Linked DNA regions of Homo sapiens: region 1 is linked to region 2. Evidence: promoter capture Hi-C in 16 types of primary human blood cells and fetal thymus (Javierre and others, 2016). All regions are on one chromosome and are shown on one strand. The core of a region is centred on a gene start or on the middle of the fragment in contact, and the rest is flanking DNA. Distances in the headings are between cores, read along the strand shown.

The links. Contacts are between HindIII fragments. The CHiCAGO score rates a contact against its expected background, and 5 or more counts as called.
Region 1: a contact is called between a fragment that was not itself captured here and the fragment with the promoter of LCA5L in region 2, in 1 of 17 cell types (naive CD8 T cells). The highest score is 6.0, in naive CD8 T cells.

Annotation. Positions count from the first base shown.
Region 1 is chr21:38,827,498-38,832,907 of GRCh38, reverse strand. No RefSeq gene overlaps it. Among named protein-coding and RNA genes, the nearest start is that of ETS2, 24 kb to the right of the region's middle. RefSeq lists enhancers at 1,189-1,378, 368-1,567. The HindIII fragment of the contact is 9,742 bases long and covers 1-5,410 here.
Region 2 is chr21:39,444,045-39,449,098 of GRCh38, reverse strand. LCA5L (lebercilin LCA5 like) reads left to right here and starts at 3,321. Exons shown (of 11, transcript NM_152505.4): 1 at 3,321-3,374; 2 at 4,898-4,964. The region is part of intron 8 of GET1-SH3BGR (GET1-SH3BGR readthrough); the gene reads right to left. It overlaps MIR6508 (microRNA 6508), which reads right to left and starts at 2,089; the gene lies at 2,030-2,089. It also overlaps a transcript of SH3BGR not described here. RefSeq lists a silencer at 3,151-3,410. The HindIII fragment of the contact is 3,319 bases long and covers 2,227-5,054 here.

The DNA of each region.
Region 1 (5,410 bases), core at 264-2,763, 610 kb after region 2:
CCCACAGACATAGTTGAAGTGCTGGGCTCCACACTTCTCACTTTAGGGAGACTCCTATACCATTGCCTCTTTCCTCCAGGGCTCCTTCACTAGGAAGTGGCTTCCAGAAAGCGTGGGCAGCCTGGCTTCCAGTGATCTGCAGATTCCCAGAGGCTGATATTGAACCATGGTTGGGATTTGCTCTGGGGTCCATACATAGCTTGAGAAAACAGAAGCCCCAAGGTATGCAAATTTGACCCAAAATACAAGTCTGATTCCTGAGGACCTGAGAATTAGAAATGAGATGCTAATTCCTTAGGATGAGCTTCATCCAGAGGGTGGGAAGGCGTGGAGCACCTGCAGCACTATTGACAACTACTAGGGTCAACAGGAAGCCAAAGGAGGGTACCCTGTGAGGGAACATCCGGCCACTCAGCTGAGCTCCAGCCCTCTGAGCCCTCCCCTATTCCCAAGCCACAGTCTGCATCTCAGGCACAAGGAATCAGGGACCACGGATGAGTCAGGATAAGCCTCTCCAATTTCTTTTTAGGGGGTTCACCTCTCCGAGCTTCAGTTTCCACATCTGTAAAATGGGCATAATAAAACCAATCTCCCAGGGTCACAGGGAGGTGTAAGTGAGATGACAGATGAAAGTGAGCTTTGAAAATGGCGCCATATTTCCCAATTAACTAATTACATGCTTACACTGCAATGAAAAATAACCTCTTCCAGAACCAAATTGGGTGGAGTTTACCAGCAAATCATAAAAGTGTTTCTCATCAGAGCTTTACAGGCTACAGCAGACAGGCAATCTTTTTTGCTTAAGAGCTCATTTTTTTGTTTACTTATCTTCGTTTGCTCCCACCTCCACTTTCTTTCCTCCAACCAACCCACCTTCCTCCGGGCCACAGTCTTTGCTGGATCTGTGCTTCTGACCTTATGCCACTCAAACATACATGTGTGCTGAGCCCCAGGTCTATGTCTGGACAGTATGAAGCCATAGACACAGAAACAGCTAGCAAGAGTCAGATGTGGTAATCCCAGGCAGTTTTGCCATCTGAACATGACTTTGAGAAATGGGGAGGGGGCAGTTACTCATAGTACATGGAACAGAGGTCATGTCCATTCCAGTTGCCAAGATGTCATCACCTCAGCTATGACCAAAAATGGTCTTTCCCCTAATGTTAAATTTCAAGCAGAAGTCACATGTCCAGACTCCGCCCAGGAGTTACAAAAGAGTTGCACAATAAGGGGTTTCCCCCTGCACTGCTTCAAGACTCACCCTTCTGTTTTGCTGTTACAGAAAAGACAGATTAATATCTGGCCCAGATTATGAGATTCTTGCATCTGTTCGAACTCAGCTAGCTGCCAGCAGCTGCTGTAAATGAGGGCTGTGTGTTCTTTGGGTAGGAGGTTCCTGATAATTTAAAATTCAAATCAAGGGCTGTGGCCTCTGGTTTGTGGAAGGAGGAACTAGAAACTTGAAGGAGCCCTAGGTAGCATCTGGGGCAGCATTTATAATGACTTCAACCAAACATGACAGGGTTATTTTGGCCAGAGGACAACACCAGAAAACAGAAGACCAGGGTTTGAGTCTTGGTTCAGTTAAGTACTTGTTTCATCACTGAACTCTGCCCCTGGATTTCTTCTGATGAAAATGGAGACATGATTGTCTGGGATCCATATTTTCTTTGCAGATCCCCTGGCTCAAACACACCTTCCTTGGCGTGCTCTGTTCAAATAGCACCCCCATCCCAGGTTACTGACTTTACACAATCTTATACCCCCAATAGATCAATCCCCCCAACAGCCACAAATGACCTGGCTTTATGGAGGGGAAACTGAGGCAGAGAGTGATTAAATTGCATACCCAAGGTCACAAATAGTGCCTGACAGACCCAGTGACAGTGATAATCCAAGGTCCATCTCCAAATCACAACAAATCCTCCTGTTAACTTGCTTGATATTTCAGGAGAGGTGATGGGGCAGCTTGCTCCCTCTACCTCTTGCCACAGTTCCTGCTCCACTTCCTCTGGCCCTCAAGCCCTGTGCTCCCGCCCAGCAGCCCCATTAAAGCCTGAATCATTCCCAGTGACAAGTGTCCACCATGTGGAGTTCTGGAGCCCTATCAGGAAAGAAAGCTGGTAGGGTGTTATTTCTGAGGGCTCTGTTCTGTTCCATTGATCTATATCTCTGTTTTGGTACCAGTATCATGCTGTTTTGGTTACTGTAGCCTTGTAGTGTAGTTTGAAGTCAGGTAGTGTGATGCCTCCAGCTTTGTTCTTTTGGCTTAGGATTGACTTGGTGATGCGGGCTCTTTTTTGGTTCCATATGAACTTTAAAGTAGTTTTTTCCAATTCTGTGAAGAAAGGCATTGGTAGCTTGATGGGGATGGCATTGAATCTGTAAATTACCTTGGGCAGTATGGCCATTTTCACGATATTGATTCTTCCTACCCATGAGCATGGAATGTTCTTCCATTTGTTTGTATCCTCTTTTATTTCCTTGAGCAGCGGTTTGTAGTTCTCCTTGAAGAGGTCCTTCACATCCCTTATAAGTTGGATTCCTAGGTATTTTATTCTCTTTGAAGCAATTGTGAATGGGAGTTCACTCATGATTTGGCTCTCTGTTTGTCTGTTGTTGGTGTATAGGAATGCTTGTGATTTTTGCACATTGATTTTGTATCCTGAGACTTTGCTGAAGTTGCTTCTCAGCTTAAGGAGATTTTGGGCTGAGACAATGGGGTTTTCTGGATATACAGTCATGTCATCTGCAAACAGGGACAATTTGACTTCCTCTTTTCCTAATTGAATACCCTTTATTTCCTTCTCCTGCCTAATTGCCCTGGCCAGAACTTCCAACACTATGTTGAATAGGAGTGGTGAGAGAGGGCATCCCTGTCTTGTGCCAGTTTTCAAAGGGAATGCTTCCAGTTTTTGCCCATTCAGTATGATATTAGCTGTGGGTTTGTCATAGATAGCTCTTATTATTTTGAAATATGTTCCATCGATACCTAATTTATTGAGAGTTTTTAGCATGAAGGGTTGTTGAATTTTGTCAAAGGCCTTTTCTGCATCTATTGAGATAATCATGTGGTTTTTGTCTTTGGCTCTGTTTATATGCTGGATTACATTTATTGATTTGCGTATATTGAACCAGCCTTGCATCCCAGGGATGAAGCCCACTTGATCATGGTGGATAAGGTTTTTGATGTGCTGCTGGATTTGGTTTGCCAGTATTTTACTGAGGATTTTTGCATCAATGTTCATCAAGGATATTGGTCTAAAATTCTCTTTTTTACGGCTACCTGATCTTTGACAAACCTGAGAAAAACAAGCAATGGGGAAAGGATTCCCTATTTAATAAATAGTGCTGGGAAAACTGGCTAGCCATATGTAGAAAGCTGAAACTGGATCCCTTCCTTACACCTTATACAAAAATCAATTCAAGATGGATTAGACTTAAACGTTAGACCTAAAACCATAAAAACCCTAGAAGAAAACCTAGGCATTACCATTCAGGACATAGGCATGGGCAAGGACTTCATGTCTAAAACACCAAAAGCAATGGCAACAGAAGACAAAATTGACAAATGGGATCTAATTAAACTAAAGAGCTTCTGCACAGCAAAAGAAACTACCATCAGAGTGAACAGGCAACCTACAGAATGGGAGAAAATTTTCGCAACCTACTCATCTGACAAAGGGCTAATATCCAGAATCTACAATGAACTCAAACAAATTTACAAGAAAAAAACAAACAACCCCATCAAAAAGTGGGCGAAGGACATGAACAGACACTTCTCAAAAGAAGACATTTATGCAGCCAAAAAACACATGAAAAAATGCTCACCATCACTGGCCATCAGAGAAATGCAAATCAAAACCACAATGAGATACCATCTCACACCAGTTAGAATGGCCATCATTAAAAAGTCAGGAAACAACAGGTGCTGGAGAGGATGTGGAGAAATAGGAACACTTTTACACTGTTGGTGGGACTGTAAACTAGTTCAACCATTGTGGAAGTCAGTGTGGCGATTCCTCAGGGATCTAGAACTAGAAATACCATTTGACCCAGCCATCCCATTACTGGGTATATACCCAAAGGACTCTAAATCATGCTGCTATAAAGACACATGCACATGTATGTTTATTGCGGCATTATTCACAATAGCAAAGACTTGGAACCAACCCAAATGTCCAACAATGATAGACTGGATTAAGAAAATGTGGCACATATACACCATGGAATACTATGCAGCCATAAAAAATGATGAGTTCATGTCCTTTGTAGGGACATGGATGAAATTGGAAATCATCATTCTCAGTAAACTATCACAAGAACAAAAAACCAAACACCGCATATTCTCACTCACAGGTGGGAATTGAACCAATGAGAACACATGGACACAGGAAGGGGAACATCACACTCCGGGGACTGTTGTGGGGTGGGGGGAGGGGGGAGGAATAGCATTGGGAGATATACCTAATGCTAGATGACGAGTTAGTGGGTGCAGCACACCAGCATGGCACATGTATACGTATGTAACTAACCTGCACAATGTGCACATGTACCCTAAAACTTAAAGTATAATAAATAAATAAATAAATAAACAAATAAATAAATAAAGCTGGTTGAGTGATGTTGGGGAGAGCCAGGACATGGGGGAGAGCCAGGATGTGGGGCAGAACTGACGGAAATGTAATTCTGCTTCTTCCCCGCCATGGAAAAGGCGGGCAGGCAGGCCCCATGACTTCATCTCTGCACAATCCCAGTTTTGAAGATGTTCCGAAAAATGATTTCTCTAAATACTTATTTCCCTTCCCTTTCCTCTTTTCTTCTAAGTTTCAGAAAAACTGTGGCAAGACCAGGTGCAGTGGCTCATGCCTATAATCCCAGCACTTTAAGAGGCCAAAGCAGAAGGATCCCTTGATTTTAGGAGTTTAAAACCAGCCTAGACAACATAGGGAGACCCCATCTCTACAAGAAATTTAAAAATCAGATGGGTCTGGTGGTGCATGCCTGTAGTCCCAGCTACTCAGGAGGCTGAGATGGGTGGATCACTTGAGTCCAGGAGGTTGAGGTTACAGTGGGCTGTGATCATGCCACTAAACTCCAGCCTTGGCAACAAAGCAAGACCCTGTCTCAAAAAAAAGTGGCAAAATATACATTTTTTGTTTCCTGAAACAGATTTGGAATTGGACTGGAGCATGGAAAAGAACAAAGATAGAAGGATGGCAGGAAAAGGGCTTTGAGAGTATCCATTTCACCCTGTGTGAAGGAACTTTTCTTTATCATGCAGACTAGACAATTCTTCTTGATTTAAACAAGAAATGCTTCCTCCTTACCTGGCTATGAAAAGGTCAGAAGACTGGAAGCACGGACACTGGATTTGGGAGGCCAAAGGCTAATTTTCCCTACCTTCGCT
Region 2 (5,054 bases), core at 2,072-4,571:
GAGTTCTAGCATTAAAATGGGATGGAATTTGGCTCTTTATATCAACAGGTGAACTATAGGGCACAAAGACATTTTATGTGCAATTTCTATAAGCTGGCCAAAATTGGCTGGAGGTCTGCAGCTGTTTATCAATAAAGAATGTTTATAAGACCAGTCCTTTGTCCAACTGGAGTTGTAGTAGGTCTGCAAGGCGTTTGGGGGTGGGGGCGCATACTGAGGGAGGGAATGTTTCCATTGGCTGGCATCAGGCAGTCTATCGGGGTCAGTTGGAAATTTTCCAGCTGAAGTTGTGTTGGCTATGCTTTTTCGAAGCTGGTTTCTGCTTACTTAATAGCAGTTAATAATGCAAAAATACGTAACTAACCCCTCATCCTTCTGGCTGTGACATTCTGGAGGTTTTGTTTTGTTTTGTTGTTTGTTTTTTGTTTGTTTCTGTCACCAGGCTGGAGTGCAGTGGCTTGATCTCAGCTCATTGCAACCTCCACCTCCCACATTCATCTCCTGCCTCAGCCTCCCGAGTAGGACATTCTGTTTTTGGTGCATCTCATTTTAGGAAACAGGAGTTCATTTTGTCCGTCTGTTGGAGTATATTTTAACAAGTCAAATAACATCACTTTTTGATTTGATTAATTTTGATTTAAAGACATGAGGTACTGGGCTACAAACTTCATAGAGACCCCCAGATGATCTCATGATAAATGATACCAGATGATATGTTTTGATTTACATAACTTTACAGATAACTTAAAATGACAAATAAAGACACGTCTTTATTATGTAGAATGATGGAAATGATTACCATAATAACTGTAGTGGGTTGAATATTGTTCACCAAAATTCATGTTCAGCCAAACCTCAGCATGTAACCTTATTTGGAAATAGAGTCTTTACAGATGTAATCAGTTGAGGGGGTCTTGTGATTAAATCATCCTGGATTTAGGGTGGGCCCTAAGTCCAATGACTGGTTGTCCTTATAAGAAGACAAGACAGGGAGACACAGAGAAGAACACCCTGTGAAGATGGAAGCAGAAATTGGAGTGGTGCTGCCACAAGCCAAGGAATAGCAGGAGTCCCCATAAGCTGGAAGACTCAAAAAATTCTCCCTAAGAGCCTTCAGAGGAAACATGGACTTTCAGACAACTTGGTTTCATACTTCTGACCTCCAGAAATGTGAGAAGATAAAGTTCTATTGTTCTAAGCCCCTAAGTTCGTGGTAGTCTGTTATGACATCCCTAGGAACCTAGGAACCTAATATAGAGAAATAAAGGCTATGCTTTTTATGTGGCATGATGGAGATGGCCCCAGAATAGTGAAAGGCCATGGCTCTTCTCCTTCCATTGTGTACACAGAAAAGAACACCCCTTCGAAAGCAAAAGCAAAGGCCAGGCACGGTGGCTTATGCCTGAAATCCCAACATTTTGGGAGGCCGAGGCGGGCAGATCACTTGAGGTCAGGAGTTCAAGGCCAGCCTAGCCAACATCGCAAAACCCCATCTCTACTAAAAATACAAAAAGAATTAGCCGGGTGTTGTGACTCACACCTGTAATCCCAGCTACTCAGGAGGCTGATGCAGGAGAATCACCTGAACCCAGGAAGCGGAGGTTGTGGTGAGCTGGGATGGCGCCACTGCATTCCAGCCTGAGCGATAGAGTGATACGTCTCAAAAAAAAAAAAAAAAAAAAGCAAAAGCGAAAGCAAAGAAAGATTCAAGGGCAGATTTGCAGTGACTTATCATGTCTACAGACTGGGAAAAGCTGGTAGAAAAGAGGAGGAAACCATTCTCAGGAAACTCTACCTTTCAATTCCTCCAGTCATGAGCTCCAGGGTTGGATGCTCCCGCAATGGCAAAACTCCGCTCTCGTTACTGTCATGGGGCCACCACCACCCACCAAGCATCAGCCCATCTTTCCATAATGTCAAGTCTAGAGTGACATTTGTCTAATGTTTGCCTACCTGGAGATGTTGCCCCGCCCACCACCACCAGCAAAAACAACCGGCACCCATCTTATACGGATAATTCCCTACCTAAGGAGTTCTAGAAATGCATGGCCCACCAAAACTCAGGGTGGGTCATGCATTTCTAGAGGAAGAAATGGTGATATGGAGAGAAAGCTTGTCCTAACCCACTTCTACCAAAGTAGGATTAAAGTCAATTTGAAAAAAAACACCCGTTTCTCCTTTTATATAAAAACCAAATGCAGAAACTATAGAGAAATGTAATAAGCTTGACTCTACACAAATACCAAAATACACTGTAAACAAAATTAAAGGTAACTGACAAATTGAGGAAATATTTGCAACGTATATCACAAGCCAAGTTTTCAAGCATCAAAAGTCCTTACAAAACCCATTTTTACAAAGATGAATGTCAAGTTTTAAAATGGACAAAAGACAGGAAAATGCAAATCACACAATAAGGACAAATGGCACTCAAGATATGGGAAAAAGTCTATTCTTCCTACTAAAAAGGAAGTGAATACAATTAAAGATGCCAATTTTTGACAATAAAATGGGCAAAAAAATTTTAAGAAAAAAGAGAATTTCCAATGCGGGCCAAGTATCGGGACACTTACTGGAAGGCAGTTTCCCTCTACCTTTAGAAAGCCTCAAAGTGAGCATATGCTTTGGCCCTGCAACCTCGCTTGTAGGAATTTATCCTAAGGAAACAGTCAGGGGTGACCTCAAAGATTCATCTGCAAGGATATTCAACATGGCTTTGATGCAGGAAAAAAAGTAAATAAATAAAAGGAAACAATGTAAGTCTTCCTAAATTATGCCAAATTCCTATGCTGTCATTAAAAAACATCTATAACTCCATCATCTAGGTGATTTTGACTTTTGCTTTGGACTTGCCTGTACATTTCTAAATTCTCTATGCCAAACATGCATTGTTTTGTCATCAGATTTTGTTTTACAAAAAAAAAAAAAAAATCGTCTTTATGACAAGGGGTTAATAGGGGAACTGTGCTTCCCAGGAATTGACCAGGCGTCTACACCCACCTACTGACTCAAGTTACCTAAGACTGACAGAGCCTTAAGAGGTCAGGAGAGCGCCAGAGCGCGTGACAGGCTCCCTCGTCTCGGTGCGGCCACGCGGGAAGGCAGGGTCCCGGGCGCCGAACAGGGACGGCAGGAGGATCGTTTACAGACGTCTACACAAGAAACTCACTTCCCGTCACCGAAGACAAACGCGAGGCCACACTGACCTCCAGGCCCAAGACGCCCCTCCCCGCCGCGGCTCCTGCTGCCCGAGTGCGCATGCGCGCGCCCAGCCCCCGCAGGCCGGCGCTTCCCAGGAGGCCCCGCGCGCGGGTTTCCATGGGGACGCGCCGGCGCTGCGGCGTTGGCGCAGTCGTGGGAACAGCGCGGAGCAGGTAACGGCCCCGCTGCTGCCGTCGTCCCCCTCAGCCGGTTACCCTGTTACAGCCCCAGCTCTGGGCCCTTCCGGACCCTCCTGCTACGCTCTTTCTGGGCTTCCAGTATCGCCGGTCACTCAGTCCTCGCCCCTGCCTGCCTCGCTGGCGCCCCGCCGTTTCCTCCTCGCGGCACAGTTTGCCAAGGAACAGCTACCCCGGCTCGGCAGTGACCGGGCGCCCCGGCGACACACGTACTCTCAGGCCCGCTGGGCAGGGGGACGGCCTGGGCCGAGGTGACCTAGCGCTCCCGGGGCCGCGCCTGGGTCTGGCGAGGGGGCGGAGGCCGATCTCACCGCCGCCCCACCGAGGGAACTTTGGGGTTTTTCTATCTGAATCTTCTATCTGACCTCCGATTTTGCCTCTGCTTACTTGCTGTTTTGCTTTGGATTAGTTTTTCTTTCTAACCTTAGCGCTGGCATCTCCCTATCTCGTAGGAATCTAAATCTTTTGAAATGTCTTCTCTGTCTGTGTTTGTCCCCCACTCACCCAGCCTCGGGGCTCTTTATCCACACCCTCCCCTCAGCGTGTTAACGTTTCGTTGCCACACTTAAGCCAACGGTTAACTTTTTTCAGAGACCAGTTTTCACGGCTGAATGTGAGCTTGAGCCTTTTTTCTGTCTACACTCAATCCCTAGATGAACTCATCCAGTCGCCTGTACTCAGAGCCTATCTGAATTCCAGTGAGCCCCAAGTGTGCATTCCCAGCCCTCGCCCCTCCCCTGAACACCAGATCCCTGCATTTAGCTGCCTGCCACATCCCTACTTGGATGTCTACGGCATCTCAAACACAGCTCGTCCAAGATAGCGCTCAATAATTCCCCAAGCCAAGCCTGTCCTCCCACAATCTTAATCCATCATAGTTGCTGGAAATTCCATCCTCCAGTTGCCCGAGTCTTGCATCCTGTTTGAGTCCTGTTTTTCTCTTCCTCACCTTCAGTCTGTCAGCACTGCCTTCAAAATGCACCCAGAATAGATTCACAATTCTACCATTTCTCTCAACCGCCACTGTCACCACCTTGGTCCAGGCCCCCATCATCTGGTGCGTGGATTATTTTACTTGCTTCCTAATTGGTTTCCCTGAGTCTGCCCCTCCCCCACTTGAGCATGACAGTCTTAATGGTATTTCCCCGTTCTCTGTTATTTCGTATGAGTAAGTTTTTTAAAGGATTATATAAATTACAATTTCCTTATATAAATTACAACTTCCATAGGTAAAAGTGCAGTATTTTCAGTATGTATTTTGCAAATTGCAACTTTTAAACCGGGTCAGCAAGGCCATATAAGCATCCTGCTAACAAGCTAAAAATGTAAAGACACCCCTTAGCTTTGTTAGGTATAAATATGACAGTGCCCCTGGAACAGAACTATGGCAAGAGCTTTACAAGGGACTGTCCTGAAGAACAAAAGAACCCAGAGCCTTCTTCCCAGCGCAAAGACAGGAATCATGTAGGAGTTTAAGCTCTTCCTTTTTTATTTTTTAGAGAAGCACCAAAAGAGGCAAACTGAGATGCAGACAAATGATCATCCGTATGCTGATCATTTTGAATAGTAAGTACCTGGGTGCTGATACCGCGATCAATGTGACAGGTCCCTGCCCTCAAGGAGCTAAGGCCCCTAGCCAATCTCTCTTTTTTTGTT